Regions from separate parts of the Homo sapiens genome. Here all the other regions are linked to region 2. Evidence: promoter capture Hi-C in human tissues and cell types (Jung and others, 2019). All regions are on one chromosome and are shown on one strand. Each heading gives the region's core, a stretch centred on a gene start or on the middle of the fragment in contact. The rest is flanking DNA. Distances are from core to core; before and after follow the strand shown. Region 1 has its middle 12 kb from the start of HS3ST6. Region 2 holds the start of RHOT2 (ras homolog family member T2). Region 3 overlaps JPT2 (Jupiter microtubule associated homolog 2).

Evidence for each region. Contacts are between HindIII fragments. The study calls those that stand out against the background at their distance.
Region 1: a contact is called between a fragment that was not itself captured here and the fragment with the promoter of RHOT2 in region 2, in 1 of the 25 tissues and cell types used here (spleen).
Region 3: a fragment that was not itself captured here is called in contact with the fragment with the promoter of RHOT2 in region 2 in 4 of the 25 tissues and cell types used here (IMR-90 fibroblasts, dorsolateral prefrontal cortex, lymphoblastoid cells and 1 more).

What each region holds. Positions count from the first base shown.
Region 1 is chr16:1,928,411-1,932,402 of GRCh38, forward strand. No RefSeq gene overlaps it. Among named protein-coding and RNA genes, the nearest start is that of HS3ST6, 12 kb to the left of the region's middle. The HindIII fragment of the contact is 5,872 bases long and covers 1-3,992 here.
Region 2 is chr16:666,882-669,409 of GRCh38, forward strand. RHOT2 (ras homolog family member T2) reads left to right here and starts at 1,251. Exons shown (of 19, transcript NM_138769.3): 1 at 1,251-1,355; 2 at 1,472-1,530; 3 at 1,607-1,688; 4 at 1,775-1,818. The coding sequence starts at 1,319. WDR90 (WD repeat domain 90) reads left to right here. Exons shown (of 41, transcript NM_145294.5): 40 at 24-108; 41 at 551-949. The coding sequence ends at 708. RefSeq lists an enhancer at 962-1,643 and silencers at 1,029-1,368, 1,429-1,528, 1,629-1,718. The HindIII fragment of the contact is 52,780 bases long and covers 1-2,528 here.
Region 3 is chr16:1,682,291-1,686,671 of GRCh38, forward strand. JPT2 (Jupiter microtubule associated homolog 2) reads left to right here. Exons shown (of 5, transcript NM_144570.3): 2 at 3,149-3,297. Among named protein-coding and RNA genes, the nearest start is that of JPT2, 6.2 kb to the left of the region's middle. The HindIII fragment of the contact is 5,684 bases long and covers 1-4,381 here.

The DNA.
Region 1 (3,992 bases), core at 894-3,393, 1.3 Mb after region 2:
CGGGCAGTAACAACAACATAATTGACTGGGCTGAGGAGCTCACACCTATAATCCCAGCATTCTGGGAAGCCGAGGTGGGGGATCCCTTGAGCCCAGGAATTCAAGATCAGCCTGGGCAACAAAGCCAGAGCACGTCTCTACAAAAAGTTTTTTTAAAAAATTAGCCAGGCACAGTGGCTCATGCCTGTAATCCCAGCACTTTGGGAGACCAAAGCGGGAGTGTCACTTGAGCCCAGGCGTTCCAGACTAGCCTGGACAACATGGCAAAACCCTGTCTCTACTAAAAATACAAAAATTAGCGGGGCGTAGTAGCACACCTGTAGTCCTAGCTATTCGGGAGGTTGACCTGGGAGGATCGCTTGAGTCCAGGAATTCAAGGCTGCAGTGATCCATGGTCATGCCACTGCACTCCAGCCCAGGCAACAGAGAAACCCCCTTCTCAAGAAGAAACAACCAGGCCCGGCGCGGTAGCTCATGCCTGTAATCCCAGCACTTTGGGAGGCCCTGCTGGGCGGATCATGAGGTCAGGAGATCGAGACCATCCTGGCTAACACAGTGAAACCCCGGCTCTACCAAAAATACAAAAAAATTAGCCGGGCGCAGTGGTGGGCGCCTGTAGTCCCAGCTACTCGGGAGGCTGAGGCACGAGAATGGCGTGAACCCGGGAGGCGGAGCTTGCAGTGAGCCGAGATCGCGCCACTGCACTCCAGCCTGGGCGGCAGTGCCAGACTCCGTCTCAAAAAAAAAAAAAAAAAGAAACAACCCCAAACTGTAATTATGATAAACAACACCGATCTCATTTATGGAGTAGGAAATCAAGCTGGAGAGGTGGGGTCAGCCTAGGTCAGAGCAGGCAAGGACTGTGGGAACCTCTGAGGGAGGGACCTGGTCTGGTTATTATTTTGCAGAGAGGACTCTGGTTGGGGGAAGGCAGCCAGGAGCTGCCTGGGTTGTAGCGGGGAGAGGTGGGCGGAGGAAAGAGGCCTGGGATGTGGAACCCTAGGATCTAGCCCTGAGGGCGGGCCAGGTCCGGGCAGCCTGGGTCCCACGCAGCTGCCCTGAAGAAGGGGCTGGGGGCGTCCTGCCTCCACCCGCGCCCCCAACCACGCCTGCCGTTCCCACCGGCCGCGCCACCCCCGCCCCCGCCCCTGGCTCTGTCCTCCGGTGACCCTGGAAGGGGCACCCGTGGCTGCGACTGCACTCCCTGTAGCGGTCACTTCGTGAAGCCCGGCAAACCCCCTGCAGCTGCCCCTGGCACCCTCAGACGACCAGAGGCCTCGGCCTGGGTCCCCAGCACCGGCCCAAGGGCGGGCGTGGCCGAGGCGGTTTCTCTGCGCGGACGCTCGCTGCCTCCGCCGCAACCCCCGCGGCCACCCGGGGAACTGCAGCGCCGTCAGGCCCCCCGCCGCGCCTGCGCACGCAGACCACCCGGCCTGGCAGCACCGAGCGAGCGTGCCCCCTGCTGGTCAGTCCTGCGCACGGTCCCGCGCCCGGGCCCGGGAGGCCGCCTCGAGGGCCGGGGCTTGCACGTGGCCTCGGCGCCTTCGCCGACCCTACCGGACGCCCCCTCCTCCCACCTGCCGACCCGTCCGCGGGTAGGAGCCTCCCGGGAGCTGCCCACGGCCCCCACCCCCACCAGGGGCCACAGCCCCACCAGGGCCAGGCTCTGCGCGGCACCTGCCACTGAGAGAGCGGAAAGCGGTGGTTGAGCAAGGGTCTGAAGTATGGTCTGTTCCCCCATACGGGCCGCAGACGCTTCCTGGTGGCTGCTCTGAGCCAGGCCTGGGCCCCGGCGAGGGATCACGGTGTCTCAGACAGAGTTCCTTTTTATTCCCCATCCCTCGCCCGAGGTGACGGCCCAGCCGTGCCCAGGCCTGCCCGCTGCCCCTGAACCCAACCCTTGAGGGGCAAGGCCGTGCCCTGGGGAGGAAGGGGCTGCCCCCTCAGAGTCTGCTGTTCCTCAAGGAAGACGCGGGGGCAGCCGCAAGGATGGGGTATCACCCAGCAGGAGCGGGAGGGTAAGGTGACTGATTCCACACCAGACGCTCCATTGCTGGAAACACCACCCCCTCCTCCGGTGACCTGGCATACAGACCTTGCCCACAGCCATCCCTCCCTGGACTCTCAATGTGAGGGGGCCTTGGGGTCCTGCGGTTCACCCGTCTCCCCACTCAAGCAGTCTGCTTGCCGGCACCCCCCCCACCTCCTGAGCCCACTTGCCCCCTCCCACCCCCACCTCCCTACCACATCTTTTTTTTTTTTTTTTTCCTGAGACGGAGATTTGCTCTTGTTGCCCAGGCTGGAGTACAATGGTGTCATCTCGGCTCACCACAACCTCCCTGAGCCTCAGCCTCCCAGGCTGAGCCTGAGCCTCCCAGGTTCAAGCGATTCTCCTGCCTCAGCCTCCCGAGTAGCTGGTGTAGGGAAAAGAAAGAGAGATCAGACTGTTACTGTGTCTATGTAGAAAGGGAAGACATAAGAGACTCCATTTGAAAAAGACCTGTACTTTAAATAATTGCTTTGCTGAGATGTTGTTAATTTGTAGCTTTGCCCCAGCCACTTTGACCCAACCACTTTGATCCAATCTGGAGCTCACAAAAACATGTGCTGTATGAAATCAAGGTTTAAGGGATGTAGGGCTGTGCAGGACGTGCCTTGTTAACAAAATGCTTACAAGCAGTATACTTGGTAAAAGTCATTGCCATTCTCCAGTCTCAATAAACCAGGGGCACAATGCACTGTGGAAAGCTGCAGGGACCTCTGCCCTTGAAAGCAGGGTATTGTCCAAGGTTTCTCCCCATGTGATAGTCTGAAATATGGCCTCGTGGTATGAGAAAGACCTGACCGTCCCCGAGCCCGACACCTGTAAAGGGTCTGTGCTGAGGTGGATTAGTCAAAGAGGAAAGCCTCTTGTAGTTGAGATAGAGGAAGGCCACTGTCTCCTGCCTGCCCCTGGGAACTGAATGTCTCGGTATAAAACCCAATTGTACATTTGTTCAGTTCTGAGATAGGAGAAAAACCACCCTATGGTGGGAGGTGAGACATGTTTGCAGTAATGCTGCCTTGTTATTCTTTACTCTGCTGAGATGTTTGGGTGGAGAGAAACATAAATCTGGCCTACGTGCACATCCAGGCATAGTACCTTCCCTTGAACTTAATTATGATATAGATTCTTTTGTTCACATGTTTTTTGCTGACCTTCTCCTTATGATCATCCTGCTCTCCTACTACATTCCTTTTTACTGAAATAACGAAAATAATAATCAATAAAAACTGAGGGAACTCAGAGACCGGTGCCAGTGCAGGTCCTTAGTATGCTGAGCGCCGGTCCCCTGGGCCCACTGTTGTTTCTCTATACTTTGTCTCTGTGTCTTATTTCTTTTCTCAGTCTCTCGTCCCACCCGACTGGAAATACCCACAGGTGTGGAGGGGCAGTCCTCCCCTTCAGCTGGGATTACAGGCATGGGTCACCACGCCCGGGTAATCCGGGTAATTCTGTATTTTAGTAGAGATGGGGTTTCTCCATGTTGGTCAGGCTGGTCTAGAACTCATAACCTCAGGTGATCCACCTGCCTCGGCCTCCCAAAGTGCTGGGATTACAGGCGTGAGCCACTGTGTCCGGCCCACCACCTTAACATGGATGTTTGGATGAGCCTGGGGCCCTGGGATGCAGGCAGGAGGCACTACTCCCCAGCCCCCACCAGGATCACCACCCCTGCACTGCTGTGGCTGAGATCCCCAGGCGCCAGCAGGCCTCCAGCCACCCAGCTACCGGCCTGAGCCTGGTAGACAGCCCTGGGGACAAAACCCTGCACACAGGGGCCCAGTTTGCAGGCGAAGGCCAGTCTGCTCTTGGGCCTGAGTCCACTCTCGGGGAAACACTGGCCCCAGGTGCAGAGCTGGGAGTGCTGGGAGAAGGCAGCACAGCCCAGGCCCCTGCCTGGCCCTGTGCCTGGGAAGCCTGCTGCCCATTCAGCAGCTCCCTCCCTGCC
Region 2 (2,528 bases), core at 1-2,500:
AGCCTCACGCTGGCTGCTCACAGGTGGTGGAGAAGATACCACTGCCCTTTTTTGCCATGTCCCTGAGCCTGTCCCCCGGGACCCACCTCCTGGCTGTTGGCTTTGCTGGTGAGTGCTGGTGGATGCAGTTTGGGCCTGTCTTAGGTGGGGGCCAAGTGGGCTGACTGGTGCCCTGTTCCAAGACAGGTGCCTCACCTGTGCCCCGGGCTCCTCGTCTCTGGGGTGGGGTGAGGACATCTGCCCTAGAGAGGGTCCTGGAGTCAGGAGATGATGAGGCAGGTGAGGAACCAGGCACAGCGCCCAGCACAGGGCCTGAATGCACGGGTGGCAGCGACTTTTAAGGAGGGAACTGGCCCAGCTGCAGGCCGACAGCCTGGCAGTGATGGACCCCCTAGTCCCAGTGGCACGTGGAGGGCACAGCCAGGAGCCCTTTTAGCACCAGCTCCCCCGACCAGCATCATGCCCAGTGGGGACAGTCTGGGTGGGTTGGGGGAGCCCTCTGAGTGCTGCCTGGTCCTGGCCCTGGCCCACCTGCACCGTCTACCCACAGAGTGCATGCTGAGGCTGGTAGACTGTGCCATGGGGACTGCCCAAGACTTTGCCGGCCACGACAACGCAGTGCACCTGTGCAGGTTTACACCGTCCGCCAGGCTGCTCTTCACGGCCGCCCGCAACGAGATCCTTGTGTGGGAGGTCCCCGGCCTCTGAGATGCAGCAGGGACTGTGGTGGTGGGCATCACGCCTGGTCATGCCAGGCACCTGGACACAGGCTTGGCAGAGGCGCCAGGTTGTCAATGGCCTCATGCTGGGACAGGCCAGGATTCACGTAAATCGCCTGGAGCAAGCTGTTGTAAATTTGGCGCCCTGTGAATACTTTCATACCTGTTGCCCTTTTGCCTAAGAAATCTTTAATGTTTCTATCTTGTAATAAACATGGGCATTTATTGCATTATTGCTGCATTGTTGCACTGGCTGTCTCTGGTCACTCCTGGCCTGAGCTCAGCCTCTGCCCGTCCCTTAATCGGCTGTTTGTCAAGGCCCCTGTGGTGCCGTGAAGCAATGGCCGCTCGGCCTGCCAGGGCGCCAGGACCCTGCGCTGTCCGCCGTGGCCGGCGCGTCCACACGGTGGCGCGCCGCACAGCCTGTCCGCTCTGGCCCGCCCGGCTCGCTGGTGCGGCTGTGCGGGCGGGGCCGGAAGTGTGGGGACAGCGCGGGGCCGAGAACCGGAAGTGCGGGGCGGGCGCGGGGGCAGAGCGAAAGGCTTGAGGACCAGGTCGGGGCCGGGTTCCGGGTCGGGGAGCGGCTCCGGGCGGCAGCTATGAGGCGGGACGTGCGCATCCTGTTACTGGGCGAGGGTAGGCGCCGGCCCGGGGGTCTCGGAGCTGCGGCGGCCGTGAGGCGGGGTGAGGGTCTCGGGGGTCGGGGGGCGCCGTGACCTTGGCCCTCGCGCTGACCGCCTCGCCCCGCGCAGCCCAGGTGGGGAAGACGTCGCTGATCCTGTCCCTGGTGGGCGAGGAGTTCCCCGAGGAGGTAAGGGGCACGCCCGCCGCGGGGGTGGGAGCGGGCCCAGCCGGGGGTCCCTGGTGAGCGCGCGGGTCCCTTGCAGGTCCCTCCCCGCGCGGAGGAGATCACCATCCCCGCGGACGTCACCCCGGAGAAGGTGCCCACCCACATCGTGGACTACTCAGGTAGCGGCCGTAGCCTCCCGGGGGCCCGGCCCGCAGCGGTCCGGCGGGCCTGCTGGGTCCGCAGTGGAGTCTCTTTGTCCCCCTAGAAGCCGAGCAGACGGACGAGGAGCTGCGGGAGGAGATCCACAAGGTACCCGTGGTGCGCGGGACGAGGGAGGGGCTGGGCGCGGGCTCGGCCTAATCCGCTTCGCAGCCTGGGGGATTGGACCGAGGTGCTCCGGGTGTCCTTGGCCCTGATAATTCTGTGACCTCCGCACTGAGGGTTGTCGGGGCCCCTACAGCGCACCCCGCTGGGAGCCGGCACCGCTCAGTCCAGTGGTGCTCCAGGGATAACAGGACCCTTCCCCGCGGGCTCTCCCTCCCTCCTGCCGGGGTGGCAGCAGCGTTTGCTCTTCCTGTGGGCTCTGTGTGCGCCACGTCCCCGTGCTGTGTGCTCCAGCCCACCGTCCCGGCCTCCGGGCACCCGGAGCTCCCAGTACCAGAGCACGTGTGCCGGGGACATCTCCAGGCAAGGGCACAGGCCACAGCCACCCAGGGCAGCCCCTGCTGTTGGCACCCCTCACTGCGGTCCTGTCACTCTGTCTGTAGCGAGGGGGGAGGCAGGGGCCAAGGCGGCGGCTGTCTTGCAGGGTGTTGGGTTGCAGGTGTGGCCGTGTCTGTCCTGAGCCCTCTGCTCCAAGGGTCTTGCTGACCACAGTTATGCTTCTGGGGCCTGGTGTCCCTGCACTGGCAGTGGGCGGGGAAGAGGCTTCTCTGAGGGTTCAGCAGCAGCTCCCAGTGTGACACTGGGGAGTGCCTGCTCTGCCAACACCAGGCTGGAGGCAGGTTTTAGGGAAGGCT
Region 3 (4,381 bases), core at 1,272-3,771, 1.0 Mb after region 2:
TGCTTGAACCTGGGAGGTGGAGGTTGCGGTGAGCTGAGATCGCGTCACTGTATTCCAGCCTGGTAACAGAGTGAGACTCCATCTCAAAAAAATAAAATAGGCCGGACACAGTGGCTCATGCCTGTAATCCCAGCACTTTGGGAGGCTGAGGTGGGCGGATCACCTGAGGTCAGAAGTTCAAGACCAGCCTGGCCAACATGGTGAAACCCCGTCTCTACTAAAAATAGAAAAATTAGCTGGGCATGGTGGCGGGCATCTGTAATCCCAGCTACTCAGGAGCCTGAGGCAGGAGAATCGCCTGAACCCAGGAGGTGGAGATTGCAGTGAGCCGAGATTGTGCCATTGCACTCTGGCCTGGGCAACAAGAGCGAGATTTCGTCTCAAAAAAAAAAAAAAATGTAGAATTAGGAGGGCTGCGTGATTCAAAAATGGATATGGAAGTCAGATGGCCTTATGGCCACTCTAAGAGCACCTCACCTAAAATCTTGTTAAGCCACGCCCTCCCACCCACCACCCTTTATTTTTTTTCCTTTTGGTGAAACAAGTCCTCACTCTTTCGTCCAGGCTGGTGTACAGTGATGCAATCATGGTTCACTGCAGCTTTGACCTCCTGGGCTCAAGCCAGCCTTAGCCTCCCGAATAACTGGGACAACAGGCGCATACCACCACACCCAGCTAATTTTTTGTTTGTTTGTTTGTTTTTTTGAGACGGAATCTCGCTCTGTCACCCAGGCTGGAATGCAGTGGCGCATCTTGGTTCACTGCAAGCTCCGCCTCCCGGGTTCACGCCATTCTCCTGCCCCAGCCTCCTGAGTAGCTGGGACTACAGGCGTCCGCCACCACGCCCGGCTAATTTTTTGTATTTTTAGTAGAGACGGGATTTCACCGTGTTAGCCAGGATGGTCTCGATCTCCTGACCTCGTGATCCGCCCACCTCGGCCTCCCAAGGTGCTGGGATTACAGGCGTGAGCCACCACGCCTGGCCTTATTTTTGTATTTTTTGTAGAGACAGGGTCTCCCCATATGCCCAGGCGTGTCTCGAACTCCTGGGCTCAAACAGTCCTCCCACCTCGGCCTCCCAAGGTGCTGGGATTACAGGTGCCAGGTACTGCTCCCGGACAGCCCTTTCTCATTTAAGCTTGGTTATTGGTTATTTTTAAAAAATAATTTTTCTTAAGTGCACCTGTCTTTTTTTTTCTCCCTCCTCAAATCCTCCAGGAAATGGCAACTGCTGACAGGAAGTTTGGCATCCACCTCCCCCAGCCTCCTGAGTGGACAGGGGCCCTGGGCACCACTTCAGAGGTCGGCCAGCACACGCTTGGTTTCTGGGGTACAGTAGCCAGCCCGTGGGTCTCTGCAGGCGGAGACTGAAGCACTCTCTGCCTTCCTGCTTTATAGCAGGAGATCTGAGAACTCCATTCACATCCAGTCACAAGGAGCCCTCAGCGCTCTTTCTAGATCTTTTGAGGAGAAACTGTTATTTTTGTTAACCAAACCTTGAGTGGTCAGTGTTTGCAAAGCTTTCCAGTGAGATCTAACCTCATATCATAGTTTTTGTGTGATGTTGAGCCCTGTAATTTCAAGTATGGTCATCCTTGGTATCCTGCGGGAGTTGGTTCCAGGACCCCCAGGATGCCAAAATCCAAGGATGTGTAAGTCCTTGATATAAAGTGGTGTAATGTTTGCATATAACCTATGCACATCCTCCATATGCTTTTAAATCATCTCTAGGTTACAAGGTTACATATAATACCTAATACTATGCACATAGTTGTTACACCGTATCACCTGGGGAATAATGACAGAAAAGAAGTCTGTAGATGTTCAGTACAGATGCAACCATCCTTTTATTTCTGACATTTTGATCTGAGGTTGGTTGAATCCATGGAAGCAGAGCCCGTGGATACAGAGGGCTGACTTCGTTTCTAAACGTCTGGGATCACAGACAGTCCCATTGCTTAGGACTAGTGAGAGAGCATGTGCCACTCACTGGTTTAAATCTCAATTTCAGTAAGCCTCTCTCTCAAATGCATTTAAAAGTTTTTCCAGTTGTTATGAATTCAGCGTTTCACCGGTTTTTAATGTAGATAGTGCTCTAGAAATAGAGCTTTGTGGCAATTCCTTATTAGTTCTTAAGTTTAAGTTTTTACAATAAAAAGTGATTCAAGAGCCAGGTGCGATGGCCCACACCTGTAATCCCAGCACTTTGGGAGGCCGAGGCAGGTGGATCACCCCAGGTCAGGAGTTCGAGACCAACCTGACCAACATGGCGAAACCCCGTCTCTACTAAAAATACAAAATTAGCTGGGTGTGGTGGCGCATACCTGTAATCCTAGCTACGTGGGAGGCTGAGGCAGAAGAATTGCTTGAACCCAGGAGGCGGAGGTTGTGGTGAGCTGAGATTGCGCCATTGCATTCCTCCAGCCTGGGCAACAAGAGTAAAACTCCGTCTCAAAAAAAACAAACAAAAGTTAGCCAGGTGTTGTGGCAGGCACCTGTAATCTGAGCTACTCAGGAGACTGAGGCTGGAGAATCACTTGAACCCAGGAGGCAGAGGTTGCAGTGAGCTGAGATCGTGCCACTGCACTCCAGCCTGGGCGACAGAGCGAGACTCCATCTCAAAAAAAAAAAAAAAAGAATACTTTTAAGGGAAACTAAAGAGCAGCAGAAGTAGTCTGGCGTCTGTAAACTAGTCATACCAGTATTAACTAATGGTGGTATGTGATTTCTCAGTAGATGTTAAGAAAATACTTTTGCTGGGTATGGTGGCTCATACCTGTAATCACAGCACTTTGGGACGCCAAGGTGGGCAGATCACTTGAGCTTAGGGGTTCAAGACCAACTTTGGCAACATGGCAAAACCCTGTCTCTACCAAAAATACAAAAAATTAGCCAGCTGTGGTGGTGGGTGCCTGTAATCCCAGCTACTCAGGAGGCTGAGGTGGGAGGATCACTTGAGCCCAGGAGGCAGAGGTTGCAGTGAGCCAAAATCACGTCACTGCGCTCCAGCCTGGGTGACAGAATGAGACCTTGTCTCAAAAAGAAAAAAACAAAATACTTTTACCCTGTCTAGTTGTGCCAAAATCCTTGCACAGTGACAAGCTTTCAGGTCTGCCATCAGTAATTGGCATGTACTCTGTGCTTGTAGGGCCATGAAGCCCCCAGGAGGAGAATCGAGCAATCTTTTTGGAAGTCCAGAAGAAGCTACTCCTTCCAGCAGGCCTAATAGGATGGCATCTAATATTTTTGGACCAACAGAAGAACCTCAGAACATACCCAAGAGGACAAATCCCCCAGGTATGGGCCTTTGGAAATCCTTAATCCTTTGGCCTCCACGATTCTCTTTTGAAAATATTTTCTGTTTCTTTATACTGATCCTTTCCCATATTGTCTGGTTCAGGTAATCACTTGTTATCAGAGTTCTTCCAAAATGAAAACGTTCTGATTTGTACTTTCTCTCTTGAAGGTGACTTGAGTAGTCTTGAATTCTCCATCTGTTCTGGAGACTTTGGTTGAATACAGGCACTGAGGACACAAAAGTGGACGGGGGCTTCTGGTTCCTGCCAGGGAGCTGCTCCCAATTGTTCCACGGACCCCCATGAGATTCCTGAAATTGCGTGCAAATTATTGTGCATTTAAACATTTTTCCTAGGGAGGGAGAGTGTTTTTATTCAGATCGTCAGTGGGATTGAAACTCTTAACAAGGAAGAATTGATCTAGCACACATCTACATAGTTCTTCAGTATTTACCCAACCTCCTAGTGGTTACAGTAGGAGGGACTCTTTGAAAAAGGTTTCTTGGCCAGGCGCGGTGGCTCATGCCTGTAATCCCAGCACTTTGGGAGGCCAAGGTGTGCAGATCACGAGGTCAGGAGATCGAGACCATCCTGGCTAACACAGTGAAACCCCATCTCTACTAAAAAAGAAAAAAAATTAGCCGGGCGTGGTGGCGGGCACCTGTAGTCCCAGCTACTCAGGAGGCTGAGGCAGGAGAATGGCATGAACCCAGGAGGCGGAGCTTGCAGTGAGCCGGGATCGCACCACTGCATTCTAGCCTGGGTGACAGAGCGAGACTCCGTCTCAAAAAAAAAAAGAAAAAGAAAAAGAAAAAGGTTTCTCAGCCGGGCGTGGTGGCTCATGCCTGTAATCCTAGCACTTTGGGAGGCCAAGGCAGGTGATCATGAGGTCAAGAGTTTGAGACCAGCCTGGCCGACATGGCAAAACTCCATCTGTACTAAAAATACAAAAATTAGCTGGGTGTGGTGGTGCACGCCTATAATCCCAGCTACTCAGGAGGCTGAGGCAGGAGAATCACTTGAACCCGGGAGGTGGAGGTGGCAGTGAGCCAAATTCATGCCACTGCACTCCAGCCTGGGTGACA